Linked DNA regions of Homo sapiens: region 2 is linked to region 1. The links are contacts of gene promoters, found by promoter capture Hi-C in human tissues and cell types (Jung and others, 2019). All regions are on one chromosome and are shown on one strand. The core of a region is centred on a gene start or on the middle of the fragment in contact, and the rest is flanking DNA. Distances in the headings are between cores, read along the strand shown.

Evidence for each region. Contacts are between HindIII fragments. The study calls those that stand out against the background at their distance.
Region 2: a fragment that was not itself captured here is called in contact with the fragment with the promoter of GPR12 in region 1 in 1 of the 25 tissues and cell types used here (H1 embryonic stem cells).

Annotation. Positions count from the first base shown.
Region 1 is chr13:26,758,933-26,762,786 of GRCh38, forward strand. It overlaps GPR12 (G protein-coupled receptor 12), which reads right to left and starts at 1,854. Exons shown (of 2, transcript NM_005288.4): 1 at 1,647-1,854; 2 at 1-910. The coding sequence starts at 895. The HindIII fragment of the contact is 6,005 bases long and covers 1-3,854 here.
Region 2 is chr13:26,936,669-26,940,522 of GRCh38, forward strand. No RefSeq gene overlaps it. Among named protein-coding and RNA genes, the nearest start is that of GPR12, 180 kb to the left of the region's middle. The HindIII fragment of the contact is 4,444 bases long and covers 1-3,854 here.

The sequences.
Region 1 (3,854 bases), core at 604-3,103:
CAGGGTTGATGATGGAATTGTAGGTGGCGGGCAGGAGGGTGGCGTAGGTATAGATGGAGGGGTAGGTGTAATCCGCTATCAAGGAATAGAGGGTGAAAGGCATCCAGCAAGCAGCAAACGTCCCCAGGATGATAGCCAGGGTGGAGACCCCTTTCCGGGTGGTCACATAGTGCGACGTGGCCAGGAAGTGGTGCTGCAGGGCTATCTGATGGGCGTGCCTCATCACAATCTTACAGATCTGGATGTAGAGCTGAAGCATGAGCGCAAACATGAAGAGGAAGGACACCGAGAGGATGGCCGCGTTGTTCTTGGTGAGCGGTCTGACCACGCTGCAGGTGGACTCGTCTCGGAGGCAGTTCCAGCCCATGACGGGCAGCAGCCCCAGGCAGATGGAGGTCCCCCAGAGCATGACGAGCATGACATAGGTAAACGTGACCGTCCTCTCCGAATGGTACGTCAGAGCGTAGTACAGTGAGAGGTAGCGGTCAACAGTGATAGCCAGCAAGCTGCAGACAGAGGCAGAGAAAGAGGCGACAATGAGGCCGATCGTGACCAGCTTGGTGGCTTCTGACTGAAGCAGGTAGGCAAAAACAAAATTGGTGATGAGTCCAATGCCGGCCAGCAGGTCTGCAAGAGCCAGGCTGCCTATTAGCAGGAACATGGGTGCTCGCAGGCTGGGGTTGTGGAAGATGATAAGGACCACAATGGCATTTTCACAGGAGATGAGGGTTCCCGAGGTACACAAGACAATGTCCCAGGGGTTGACTACGAGCTCAGGCTCTGGCTCTACGGCAGGAACCCGGGAGGAGACAGCAGCCGAGATGTTCTCCGCAGCAGCGGCATCTAAATAATCCCGAGGCAGCCCGCTTAAATTGACCTTCAGGTCTTCATTCATTTTAACCCCTGTCCTCTTCAACGAAAAGACAGGCTTTTTAATGTTTAAATACAGCAGGGTGACAATCCAAGATCATGCAAAAAACACACAGACAAACAGAAAGCCAGCCCCTGCTCAGATACCAGTACCAAATGCCACAAGCTTCGGGAATGAGGAACTGTTGGGAAATGAAACAAAAGCCAAAGTCTCTGTGGTTTAAACCCCACAACAAAAATGCCGTTTGGCATTGGGGAAAACACAGGGTAGGACTTCAAAACACCAGCGTGAGCGAGGCAGGCACACACGGACTCGCGGCGGTCTGTTTGCAACAGCGCTGGGAATGCACATTGGAAAATCACATCTTGCATGCTGAAAACGAACAACTGTTTGACATCTGGGCTGCTGCCGAGAAAACCACGCGGCAGCGGCAGGTCTCGAGCCAGGGGCCGCCATCCTCGATGGAATATTTAAATCGCCTATTTCCATCGAACTCCCACCCTCCAAACGCATCCCCCGCGCGCGTGCACATCCTCAAACGCACCCCCGACCGGAACAAAGAGGGGCTCCAGACTCCCCCCGTGCGCACGGGGCAGTCGGGAGGGCCACGAGAGGGAGGTGTGTGCAATGGAAGTACCGAGACAGACAGACAGACAGATGCCCATGCACTGCTGCCGATTCCCTGGCGGCGGGGACGGGAGTCGGACGCGAGGGGGACAGACAGGGTGCGGGGACAGGCGGCCCGCGGGGGCGGGGGGGTCATCGAGGGGGTCACCTTGGCTCGCCCAGGCCGAGGGGGCTCCTCCGGTGCTTCCGAAGCGCGTGGGCTACTCGTGTCGCATGTCGGCGCAGTTGCCCGCTGTGGCAAGGGGGGGGCGGCCGGGCTCCGGAGCGGGCCGGGAGGGCGCGGGGCGCGCACTCCGCGGCAGGTGAGCGGCGCGGCTGCAGGTGAGCAGCAGCCTCGGCTCGCGCGCCCAGCTTTCCCCGCCGCGCCCGCCCGGCCCACACGCTCCCCGCGCGCGCGCCGCCCCCGCCCCGCGCGCGCCCGGCCGCCCGCCCGCCCGCGGGATCCCCGCGAGGCCGCGCGCCCCCACGGGTCAGGGCTGCTCTAGGGTGCGGGCAGGCGAGGGCGGCCCAGGGGCGCGGGGCGAGGGGCGAAGGAGCCAGGAGGCTGAGAACTGCATGGTAGCCCTGCCTGCCTGCCGCGCTGCGCGCCCCACCCCAGCCGGCGGCCCCGGGCTTGCACCGGGCGGGGCAGGGGAGCGCTGCCTGGAGCCCTGTGACCTATTTCGTTCCTGTGGTTTCCCTGGGGAGCTCCAAGTCTCTACAGTCCTGGCTTTTCCACGCCTTTACCTAAACCACTACATTCAGGGCCAAAAGAATTGCTTAGGATGATATTCACGATCAGCAGCAGGGATGCGGGGTGGACAGGTTAGGGAAGCAGATCTTTAAAACAACAAAATGCCCCGCACGCTCTTTTAGAATTGCCCATGGTCCTGGACCTGGTTCATTATCACTGTTCCCCAGGAACATTTGCTTGACTGGATAGATGCTGCTGCTCTGTGGATCATCATTATCATCACCAAATTGCACTTATTAAGCGCTCTTTGAGCTGTGTTTTCAAATGGAAATCATTTACTGAGTTCTTGTAGAAGCTTCCTGCAGACATTGGCCAAACCCCAATTCATTTAGATACTGAAGTGGCACTATTAATTTATTTTTTCATTTTGCCACATCAATGGATTCTAAGATGAAGAACCTGATAGCTGTCTGCTTTTATGATCCCATGCCTCCTCTGGATATAAAAACCAGAGCACCTCATAGATCTTAAGTTCCAAGATGATCCTCCAGTTTAAAGATGGGATAAGGAAAAAGTGTGATAGTCTTGTCTTGCCCTGTCAGAGGTGAAGGTTTTCCCACTGCTTTTCTTCCACTTGCCCAGGGGCTCTTGTATGAATGGAGATGGTCTGCAGGCAAGGGACCCTACAGGGGCATCATCAGCTGACCAGCCTGCCTTCCCCTGGTGCTCACGTCTTCTCTACCCCAGCCCAACAGATTCGGAGCCTCAATCACCCTTGACTTTCTTCCCGCTTCTCCTTCCCTTCTTCCATCAATCAGTTTCTGGCTCTGCAAGGTCACTCCAGCTCTCCCTGCATGCCACTTCTCATCATCCTCAGCTCCCTGGTTGAGGCCCTCATCCCCTCTCACCTGCATTTCTGGTACCCACCTGCCTCTCCCTTTCCCAACCTCCTCGATTTGGCACATCTATTCCATGATGTCCAAGACCTCCTGCTACCTCCAGAATAGTCTGAACTTTTTACCTTGACAGATTCTGCTCAGTAGTTCTTGGGGTGGGCCTACCTTCTGCATTTGCAAGCCTCTTCCCCAGTGATGCTGCTGCTGCTGCTGGTTGACAGATCACACTTTGAGAAGCAAGGTTCTATGGAGTTTTCAGAGTGGCTTGTTCATGGTGGGGAGGCATCAGACTCGTGTGTGTCCCAAGAACCGGGCTAAGGGCTGGGCATAGAAATTCAGTAAGACACGGTCTCCAGTCTGGTAGTGACACACACACAAATCAACAATAATGCCAGGCAGCAAATGCTGTCATGAAGGGATGTAATCTTCTTCTCAATTCTACATGATGCATCAAAGAATTTTAGAATGAAGCGATGAAAAATGAACAGTCACTTAACAAACATGTAGTAGTTTTGGCATAATATAGCTCAACCTACATGGCAAAATTTTGGGCACCTCACATTGGCATTGCAGTTTAGGGAAAGCGAATGCATAGGGCTAGCCAGACACTATTCTAGCCAATAACACTGACATGGTTTATGGCCCTGACTTCACGGAGCTTAAAGGGGTGGGACTTTTTAATTCAGTCGTTAATGTGTTTGAGAATTTTTTTTAAAAAAGAGCTGAGTGTTGGAGGAGAGAAAAAAGTATTGAGGTGAATGGCAGAGGTATACAGATTTTTGTAAAA
Region 2 (3,854 bases), core at 585-3,084, 180 kb after region 1:
GTAAGGGACTTGCCTTGAGTCTCAGAGGAGGCTTTGAACTTTGATTTTTGAGTTAATGCTGAAATGAATTAAGACTTTTGGGAATATTGGCAAGAAATGATGGTATTTTGCATGTGAGAAGGACATGAGATTTGGGGTGCCAAGGGCAGAATGCTATAGTTTGGATGCTTATCTCTCCAAATCTCATGTTGAAATTTGTTCTCCAATGTTGGAGGTGAGGCCTAGTGGGAGGTAGTTGGGTCACAGAGGCAGATCCCTCATGAATGTCTTGGTGCTGTCCTCACAGTGCTGAGTGAGTTCTTGCTCTATTAACTCCCATGAGAGCTGGTTGTTAACAGAGCCTGACATCTCCCTGCTCTCTCTCTCTTTTTCTCTCTCTTGCTTCCTCTCTCACCATGTGATCTCTGCACACCTCAATTCTTCTTCCCTTTCCACCATGAGTGGAAGCATCCTGAGTTCCTCACCAGAAGCAGATACTGGGGCCACACTTCTTGTACAGCCTGCAAAACTGTGAGACAAGTAAACCCCTTTTCTTTATAAATTACCCAGCCTCAGGTATTCCTTTATAGCAACACAAATGGACTAAAACACTTAGCAACCAAGACTACTCCTCACTGGGGCTCTTTCAGGGTTCTACTCCTGCTTCACCAGGTCCCACTGGGTCTCCTTTAGGAGAAGCTTCTCCCAGCAGCTCCCATCCCACTAGGAGTCCAAAAAAATGGCCAAAGCTTTCAGTGGACTCAGGTCCTGCAGTATCATACACAAGGCCACTCAATGATCTCTCATCTGAATAGGCCCCAACACAACCAGCTCCCCCACCACCACCACAGGGGCCAAGCCTTCCCACTCTGCAAACTTCCTGCTCTTTCTGAGGAGGATGCTGATTAGACTCTGAGCTGTTTGAGTATGGAGTCTTATGATTTAGAAGGCAGTTTCTGCTTTATTCCACTGCGGCAGCCTCTGCCAATAATGGGACACTGTTGAGAGCTGACAGGCCTCTGACAAGCGCCATTGTTTTTTCATAGGAGTTCATGTGAAAATAGCTTCATATTCTAAGCTGACATATAGTCACTTTAGGTAACTAAACTAACTTGCTCTGTGAACAGTAACAGTCAGTGCTGGGCTTCTGTTCATTCCGTTGTTCCCTATTGTTCCATGGCAGGAAATGTTGTTCATGAAACCCATCTCTCTCCTTGGGCACACAACTGGATTATGTTTCCCAGCCTCCCGTGGTTAGGGTGGTCATGTAACTGGGCTCCAGCCTGGCCCATGAAACCTTCCTGTGTATGGGTCTCTGTGCTCTTTCCCCTTCTGCCAGATCATAAAAAAGAGCATGAAAATGATTTGCAGAAGATGGGGAAGCCACTAGATTAATGATCCTGGGATGCTGAATCACTACCTGAAGGAGAACCCTTCTCTGATCTGGAAACCAGTTATAAAGTAGGTTCATCATGTACTGGTTACCAACCAACTTGTCTGAGTCCAGCGAGACAGAACACACACATGTGCAACAAGTTACATAAAGCAGATTTATGACGTGCAGAAGGCAGCAAGGGACAAAAGAGCATAAGATTCACTGTGAGCCAGACCTTATATTAGTCCATCCTCACACTGCTATGAAGAACTACCTGAGACTGGGTAATATATAAAGAAAAGAGGTTTAATTGACTCAAATTTCTGCAGGCTGTAGAGGAGGCACAACCTGGGAGGCCTCAGGAGAGAGAGAGACAGTGAAGAGGCAAGTGCCACACACTTTTTTTTAACTTTAAGTTCCAGGATACAAGTGCAGAATGTGTAGGTTTGTTGCACAGGTATACATGTGTCATGGTGGTTTGTTGCATCTATCAACCCATTGTCTAGGTTTTAAGCCCCGCATGCATTAGCTATTTGTCCTAATGCTATCCCTCCCCTTGCCCCCAACCCCCCAACTGGCCCTGGTGTGTGTTATTCCTCTCCCTGTGTCCTTGTGTTCTCACTGTTCAACTCCCACTTATGAGTGGGAACATGTGGTGTTTGGTTTTCTGTTCCTGCAATAGTTTGCTGAGAATGATGGTTTCCAGCTTCGTCTATGTCCCTGCAAAGGAAATGAACTAATTCCTTTTTACTGCTGCATAGTATTCCATGGTGTATATGTACCACATTTTCTTTATCCAGTCTATCATTGATGGGCATTTGGGTTGATTCCATGTCTTTGCTATTGTAAATAGTGCTACAGTAAGCATATGCGTGCATGTGTCTTTATAGTAGAATGATTCATAGTCCTTTGGGTACCATTTGACCCAACAATCCCATTACTGGGTATATAGCCACACACTTTTAAACCATCAGAAGTCATGAGACCTCACTCACTATCACAAGAACAGCAAGGGGGAAATCCATCCCCATGAACCAATCACCTCCCACCAGGACCCTCCCCCAGGATTGAGAATTACAATTCAACATGAGATACGGGTGGGGACACAGAGCCAAACCATATCAGGCCTCCAAGGCTCAAGAAAGCTGTCCAGGGTGGATGGATTCTCAACTGTGCATGTCTCACTTGCATCACAGCTGAGGGACCCCCAAAAGGCAGCCTGCCCTGGGTTATAGAGCTCAGGGGCACATGACCCACTGGGCTAAAACCTTGAGGGGCATTCTACTTCCAGGGAAGAGAGAATCAAAGCCTTGGCTGCCCCAGGCATTTCCTCTCTAACTCAAGATGTTACATTTTCTAGGAGGAACAGGAACAAGGATCAGGCTGTTTTGGGCAGCCCATCTCAGGATGTTGTATTCTAGGCATATTCTACAGTTATTCTTAAGAACTGCAAGTATGAAAGGGGGAAGAACTGGGTCAGTCTGAGGCCACCCACAGAAATATCCTGCACCAATTTTGGACCTCAAAAGTCAGAAATAAACTTCCAAACTTCCAGCCAGATGCAGTGTCTCACACATGCAATCCCAGCACTTTTGCAGGCTGAGGCCAAAGGATTGCTTGAGGTCAGGAGTTCGAGATGAGCCTGGTCAACAGAGAAAGACCTCCAACTCTACCAAAATTAAAAAAAAAAAAAATAGCCCTGGCCAGGTGCAGTGGCTCATGCCTGTAATCCAAGCACTTTAGGAGCCCAAAACAGGTGGATCACTTGAGCCAGGTGTTGGAGATCAGTCTGGCCAACGTGGCAAAACCCTATCTTTACTAAAAATACAAAAATTAGCTGGGCATGGTGACTTGAGCCTGTAGTTCCTGCTACTTGGGAGGCTGAGGCACAAGAATCGCTTGAACCTGGGAGGCAGAGGTTGCAGTGAGCCGAGATCATGCCACTGCACTTCAGCCTGAGCAATAGAGTGAGACTCTATCCCAAAAATAAAAAATAAGTTATACAGGAATGGTGGTGTATACCTATAGTCCAAGCTACTCAGAAGGCTGAGGCAGGAGGATCGCTTGAGCCCAAGAGTTCAAGTCTGCAGTGAGCTGTAATCTTGTCACTGCACTCCAGCCTGGGTGACAGAGCAAGACCTCATCTCAAAAAAAAAAAAAAAAAAAAAAAAGGAACAAATTAGAGCAAGACTTCATCTCAAAAAAAAAAAGGAAGAAATTAGAGCAAGACTTCATCTCAAAAAAAAAAAGGAAGAAATTTTTATCACTTTTGAACCATGGCATTTGGGGGGTTATTTCTAACAGCAGTTGGCGTTGCTCTTAGTCTTCACCCAAGGCTTCAGCTTCCACTGTTTGTCACAGATCACATTAACCTAGATGGGAACCTAAGCTTCCCCTGAACTCCTGCAAAAACACCTCTCACAAAGCATCTGGGTTTGGGGTAGAAAGGGCCTCAGGACTTGTATCACAGTGATGGAAATCGTTCCATACTGAATATAAA